Linked DNA regions of Homo sapiens: region 1 is linked to region 2. The links are contacts of gene promoters, found by promoter capture Hi-C in human tissues and cell types (Jung and others, 2019). All regions are on one chromosome and are shown on one strand. The core of a region is centred on a gene start or on the middle of the fragment in contact, and the rest is flanking DNA. Distances in the headings are between cores, read along the strand shown. Region 1 overlaps TALDO1 (transaldolase 1). Region 2 holds the start of ANO9 (anoctamin 9).

Evidence for each region. Contacts are between HindIII fragments. The study calls those that stand out against the background at their distance.
Region 1: a fragment that was not itself captured here is called in contact with the fragment with the promoter of ANO9 in region 2 in 1 of the 25 tissues and cell types used here (lymphoblastoid cells).

Annotation. Positions count from the first base shown.
Region 1 is chr11:760,107-763,233 of GRCh38, forward strand. TALDO1 (transaldolase 1) reads left to right here. Exons shown (of 8, transcript NM_006755.2): 4 at 16-147. Among named protein-coding and RNA genes, the nearest start is that of TALDO1, 14 kb to the left of the region's middle. RefSeq lists an enhancer at 2,482-3,127. The HindIII fragment of the contact is 7,127 bases long and covers 1-3,127 here.
Region 2 is chr11:440,435-443,872 of GRCh38, forward strand. ANO9 (anoctamin 9) reads right to left here and starts at 1,577. Exons shown (of 23, transcript NM_001012302.3): 1 at 1,487-1,577. The coding sequence starts at 1,492. It overlaps LOC105376506 (a long non-coding RNA gene), which reads left to right. Exons shown (of 5, transcript XR_007062542.1): 5 at 51-239. It also overlaps the pseudogene RN7SL838P. RefSeq lists silencers at 1,351-1,430, 1,475-1,769 and enhancers at 1,601-1,870, 2,178-2,975. The HindIII fragment of the contact is 11,307 bases long and covers 1-3,438 here.

The DNA.
Region 1 (3,127 bases), core at 2-2,501, 320 kb after region 2:
TTCTTGCTCCTACAGGCTCTCCTTTGATAAAGATGCGATGGTGGCCAGAGCCAGGCGGCTCATCGAGCTCTACAAGGAAGCTGGGATCAGCAAGGACCGAATTCTTATAAAGCTGTCATCAACCTGGGAAGGAATTCAGGCTGGAAAGTAAGTGGTCCCCCACAAGGAAGGAGCTCTCAGAGATTTTTCCTCTGTTGGAGCAGGGTCTACATGGCATCAGGCAAGTTTGACTCTCTCAGCCCTGGGGAATGCCAGACTGGGGAGCACAGCCCACAGCTTGGACTTGACCAGCTCATGTCAGCCTAGATCTGCCCTCTGCTCCAGAGCCAGCTCCCTCACTTGCTGGTGATCAGAAATGAGGGATTTCCCAGGAAGTACCATCCACCCACTCAGCAGAGAAGAAAAGCCACTAGTTAGCACCTGCAGATTCAGATTCTGTCCTTCCTCTGTCCTGATCAACACAAGCCTATGTTTACATGATTTTTAAAAAGTAAACTATTGTTATATAAAATATATGCTGGCTGGGCAAGATGGCTCATGCCTGTAATCCCAGCAATTTGGGAGGCTGAGATGGGAGGATCACTTGAGCCCAGGAGTTCCAGACCAGCCTGGGCAACAAAGTGAAACCTTGTCTCTACAAAAATATAAAGAAATTTTAGGCTGGGCACGGTGGCTCCCAGCACTTTGGGAGGCCGAGGCGTGGGGATCACGAGGTCAGGAGATCGAGACCATCCTGGCTAACACGGTGAAACCCCGACTCCACTAAAAAATATAAAAAATTAGCCGGGCATGGTGGCACACACCTGTAGTCCCATTTAGGAGGCTGAGGCAGGAGAATTGCTTGAACCCAGGAGGCGAAGGTTGCAGTTAGCTGAGATCACACCACTGCACTCCAGTCTGGGTGACAGAGCAAGACTCTGTCTCAAAAAGAAAAGAAAACTTTTAGGCCGGGCACGGTGGCTCATACCTGTAATCCTAGCACTCTGGAAGCCTGAGGTGGGTAGATCACCTGAGGTCAGGAGTTCGAGACCAGGCTGGCCAAGATAGTGGAACCCCGTCTCTACCAAAACTACAAAAAATTTAGCTGGGCGTGGTGGCAGGTGCCTGTAATCCTAGCTACATGGGAGGCTGAAGCAGGAGAATCACTTCAACCTGGGAGGTGGACGTTGCAGTGAGCCGAGATTGCACCATTGTACTCCAGCCTGGGTGACAGAATGAGACTCCATCTCAAAAAAAAAAAAAAAAAAGAAAAGAAAAACTAGCCCACCCCTGTGATTCCAGCTACTTAGGAGGCTGAGGCGGGAGGATCGCTTGAGCCTGGGAAGTTGAGGTTCCAGTAGCTATGATCGTACCACTGCACTCCAGCCTGGGTGACAGAGTGAGACCCTGTCTCAGAAAAACCAAACCAAACATATGTACGTTCAGAGTGGAAGAGACAGAAAATGTATAAAACAAAGTAAAACTCCTCTATGATGTTCTCACCCAGAAGCAGCCAATGCTATACTCAAATAATTCGCATCAGGAAGAGGTGTTTTGTTTCCACATCTGTGTGTCTGCATGTTCTACCACCTGCCATCACTGACCTGCTCTGAGATAGCATCTCACTTTTTCACCACGGCTGGAGTGCAGTGGCACGAACTTGGCTCACTGCAGCCTTGACTCCAGGCTCAAGCTATCTTTCCACCTCAGTCCCCCAAGTGGCTGGGATGACAAGCACACATACCACTCCTGGGTAATTTCACCACGTTCCCCAGGCTGGTCTCGAACCCCTGGGCTCAAGAGATCTCTACCCATCTTGGCCTCCCAAAGTGCTGGGATTATAGGCATGAGCCATTGTGCCTGGCCTCATTTGTGTGTTTTTTTGTTTTTTTTTGTTTTTGAGACGGAGTTTCATTCTCGTCCATGCTGGAGTGCAATGGTGCTATCTCAGCTCACTGCAACCTCCACCTCTGGGGTTCAAGAGATTCTCCTGCCTCAGCCTCCGGAGTAGCTGGGATTACAGGCAGGCGCCACCACTCCCGCCTAATTTTATATTTTTAGTAGAGATGGGGTTTCTCATGTTAGTCAGGCTGATCTCAAACTCCCAGCCTCAGGTGATCCGCCCGCCTCGGCCTCCCAAAGTGTTGGGATCACAGGTTTGAGCCACTGCACCTGGCCGGACCATTTGTTTTTATATGTTGGAAAATACTCCATTTTATGGATAGGCCACAGTTATTCATCTGTTGGTGGACACCTGGTCAGTTTCCATCTCTTGAGCTGTGATGTATATTGCTGTGGTCGGTTTCCATTTCTCGGGCTGTGATGTATGCTGCTGCTCTGAACACATCTGCTGCTATGAACACATCTGCTGCTCTGAACACAGATGTGCAAGTTTTGTCCTGGACATGTGTTTTTGTTTCTCGTGGGCATATGCCTAGGAGTGGAGTCTCTGGGTGACTGCTGGAGGAACTGCAGGCTGTTTCCCAACTCAGCTGTGCCATCTGCTGTCCCCCTCGAACACCCCCGTGTGGCCATGTGGCAGAGGCGCCTGGGGAGGGAACTTGTGTCTGAAGGTGCCTGAGCAGAGCCTTGGCTGTCTCATCCCATGCCCCAGCCACATGGCAAAGTATGGGCACTGCTCCGTCCTTGGGGATCAACCCCAGGATGTCCAAAGTGCACTGGGATTTGGGCAAGTGGCCTAGTGAGGCCAAGGGGCTCCTCTCAGCAGAAACCAGGGTGCTACGGGCCTGCTGCAGGGTGGCCCCAGGAATGGGTAGGGTGGAACAGGGTGAGGACTGGAATGTGGTCAGAGATGACTCAGTGGTTCTAGCCTGGGAGCTGAGCCCTGGTGAGTTCTGGGATGAGGTGACGGCCTGGCGCAAGAGCACGGGCACCCAGAGGGCCTCCCTTGCCTTTGTCTATTGTGTCATGTGGGTTGGAGAAAATCCTGGTCACCCATAACCCACTATCCACTTAGAGCCCTCGAGTCTTACCGATTTGTTCTTAACAATGGCATGAGCCTGTTCCTGCCTTTTTAGTTTAAGGCCCGTGAGCGTCTTTGGCAGCCTGTGGCTCTGGGTGGGCACCTGGCCTGCATTCACCTGCCCCGCCCTCACCTGCCCCGCCCTCACCTGCCCCCGCCCTCACC
Region 2 (3,438 bases), core at 327-2,826:
GACTAGCAAGTCCTCCCCATGTCTGCAACTGTCCTTTTTGATCACCACAGGAGTTTTGACCTGCTCCGTTTCCGACCTGGACCGGTTCACCCCTCCTTAGGCAACTTGGTGGTCCCCTGCTCCTGGGAGGTCACCATACTGATGTGCGGACAGCCAGTCAGCCTAACACACTACAGCCCAGAACTCCCAGGCTCGAGCAACCCTCCTGCCTCAGCCTCCGGAGTAGCTGGGACCGCAGGCTCATGCCACCACGCCCGGGTTCCAGCAGTCCTCCTGCCTCAGCCTCCCGAGTAGCTGGGAGCGCAGGCACGCGCCACCACGCCCGGGTTCGAGCAGTCCTCCTGCCTCAGCCTCCTGAGTAGCTGAGACTGCAGGTGCATGCCACGACGCCCGGGTTCAAGCAATCCTCTTGCCTCAGCTTCCGGAGTAGCCGGGACCACAGGCATGCGCCACCAGGCCCGGCTGCAACTGTCTTTTTTGAAGGACTGATGCTCTCACTTCCAACAAACCAGGTGCTGCTTCTCCCAACCCAACCCCTGGCCAGCCCCAAGTCTCTCCTCTAACCCCCAGCATGGGAGGAAGGGGCTGGCAGAGGGGACCCTGAGCTCAGGCTAAGGGGCATCAGGTGCTGGGCTGAGCAGCCAGGGTGTCAGACCTGGATGTGGAGGGCCGAGGAGAGCCCTGGGCGGAGATGGAGCAAGAGGCCGCCGGCGCAGCCCACACGTGGAGGCCCTGGCAGGCCGAGAGGGAGGCTGGTTTCACTCCACACCTCACCACTGCCTCCTCCCTGGGCCGACCAGGTGCTGACCTGCCCAGGTGTTGGCCCTGGCCCCAGGTGACCTCTTCACTGGCAGAGGGGAGAAAGGATGTCTTTCTACGTGTTCACCTGCACTCCCTCCCCCAGAATCGGAATCCAGCAGCAGCAGTCAGCGCCCACCCCCAGAATCGGAATCCAGCAGCAGCAGTCGGCCCCCACCTGTGCTGGGCGGGGTCCTTGGGGAGCAGAGAGCCCACAGCCCGCCGGCCACTCTGCAGCTCCCAACCCTGGGGCAGCCTGCCTGGTGCCCACAGCCCGCTCCCCCTTAGGGGCCAGCTGCAAGGCAAAGCTGCCAGGTCTGGGGTCCTCAGCAGCAGCCCCCGCCTCGGTGGGCAGGCCCTCTCCATCTCGTGTTCAGGACTCTGGTAGAGGTTCCTGGCCCCACACACTAGCTGAGAGCCCAGCCCTGGTGCCCTCAGAATCCCGGGCTGGAGGGAGGAACGCCGCCCGCCTCCAGCACTTCCAACCCCCAGCGTGCCCCAGGAGTCCAGGAGGCAGCTTAGCTGAGCCGGGCGGTCACCCTCGCCTGACCGGGCAGCCTGCAGGGACCCCCCCCACACACACAGGCGCCTTCCAGGTGGGGCTGGCGGGGGGCTGGGGCCGGGGGCCCCAGGTGTGGGCGTGGCTGGGGGCCTTGAAGGTGTGGACCCTTTTGAGCGCAGGACTCACCTGCATGCTGGCTGTGGCCGGAGTTCCAGCTGGGGTTTGGCGGCCAGGAGAGTGGCTGCCAGCGGCGGGTGCTCCTACCTGACTTCCGCGTGGGGCTCGCCCCTCCCTCCTCCTCCTCCAGCGTCCTGCAGCTGCCGCGCCTGGGTGTAGTCGGGGCGGAGCCAGCATCCAGGCCAGGAGAGTACCCCAGCCCCTGGAGCCTGGGACACCTTCCTGGAGCCCAGATGGCGGGTCAGGGGCCAGAGGGGAATTCCTAGGCTGGAGTTCCCGGGAAGGGGGTTTCCACTGTGAGATGGGTCTCATGACACCTGGTCCTAGGGGGAAGCAGGATGGCACAGAGCCCCTGACAGAGCCAGCACCAACGCCCCCACTTGCCTTGCCTCTCTCACCCCCGCTCACACATCCCCATGTTCCCTCCAAAAGCATCCCACCCCAGGCCATGCCCCCCACCCCGGGCCACGGCCCCCCACCCCGGGCCACGGCCTCCCCCACCCCGGGCCACGGCCTCCCCCACCCCGGGCCACGGCCCCCCACCCCGGGCCACGGCCCCCCACCCCACAGGTCCAGTGCTGATTCCCTTAGAGGAGAAACTGGGGCAAGGAGGACTGACGACGAGACAGACTCCCAAAGAAACTGTCTGCTCCTACCCAAGCCCCTGCTTTCTGGGCCCCACTGGGGAATCCTTGGAGTCCTGGGGACACGTGGCTGGCCCCAGGCTGTGTAGACAACGGAGGAGGAGCCCTCCACCCCGCATCCCCAGTCCCTGAGCACGTTCTGTGCAGCCTGGGCTGAGGGCGGCAGCTGGGCAGGCTCTGGGTGTCCTGAGAGTGACCGTCCAGTGGAGTGCCCTGAGGAGGGAAGGGCTGCGGGGAGTGGGGGCCCAGGCCGTGGGCTGGCACACATTATCTGCAGCGTGTGTGGCGAGGAGTCTGCTTCTGAAAGCTGCTGCAAAGCTGGGGAGGCAGGGCCAGAGCTCCGCAGGCAGACGCTGTCACACGGAACGGCTCCAGGCCCACTGGGGCCAGAGCACCCCCCGGCAAGCCCAGCAGCCCTCTGCTGTGGTCCAGGCCCAGGGCCAACAGTCGGCTCTGGTTTCCCCAAGGGGTAACATGGTCCCACCCATGTTTCTCCTTGGGGGACCTCCTGGCAGGCTGGGATGGCAGCAGAGACCACAGCTTTGCCACTTTGGCAAAGACAAGCGAGTGAAGTGGTGGCCGAGGACCTGTGAGCTCAGATGGGGCAAATCCAAATGGAACACATTCAGATCTGTGTGCAAAATGGTGGTGGCTTAAACAAGCTGTGTATTTCTCCTATAAGTGAAATCTGGAGTTGGCCGGGCGCAGTGGCTCATGCCTGTAATCCCGGCGCTTTGGCAGGCCGAGGCGGGTGGATCACCTGAGGTCAGGAGTTCGAGACCAGCTTGCCCAACATGGTGAGACCCCGTCTCTACTAAAAATACAAAAATTAGCCAGGTATGGTGGTGCACGCCTGTAATCCCAGCTACTCGGGAGGCTGAGGCAGGAGAATCGCTTGAACCTGGGAGGCAGAGGTTGCAGTGAGCCAAGATCACACCACTGCACTCCAGCCTGGGTGACAGAGTAAGACTCTGTCTTTAAAACAAAGCAAAACAAAAATCTGGAGTTGGCTAGTCCTGGACTAGTATGGCCGAACTATAGTCATCAGAGACCCAGAATGCCTTCAGCTTGTTGCTCTGCCACCTTAAATACATGGTCCCAGCACCTGGTCCAAAATGACTGCTCAAGCTCCAGTCATCACATCCACGTTCCAGCCAGTGGGAAGAGGAAAGGGCGAAGGAGGGAACCTCACCCTTCACATGGTTAGTCACGTGACCACACTCTATGGCAAGGAAGCCTGGGGCATGTGAGCTCTTTTCCCATGGAAGAAAGCAGGGTAAGCGGGAGAGGGAACATCCGGCAGTCTCACCAGGGGGT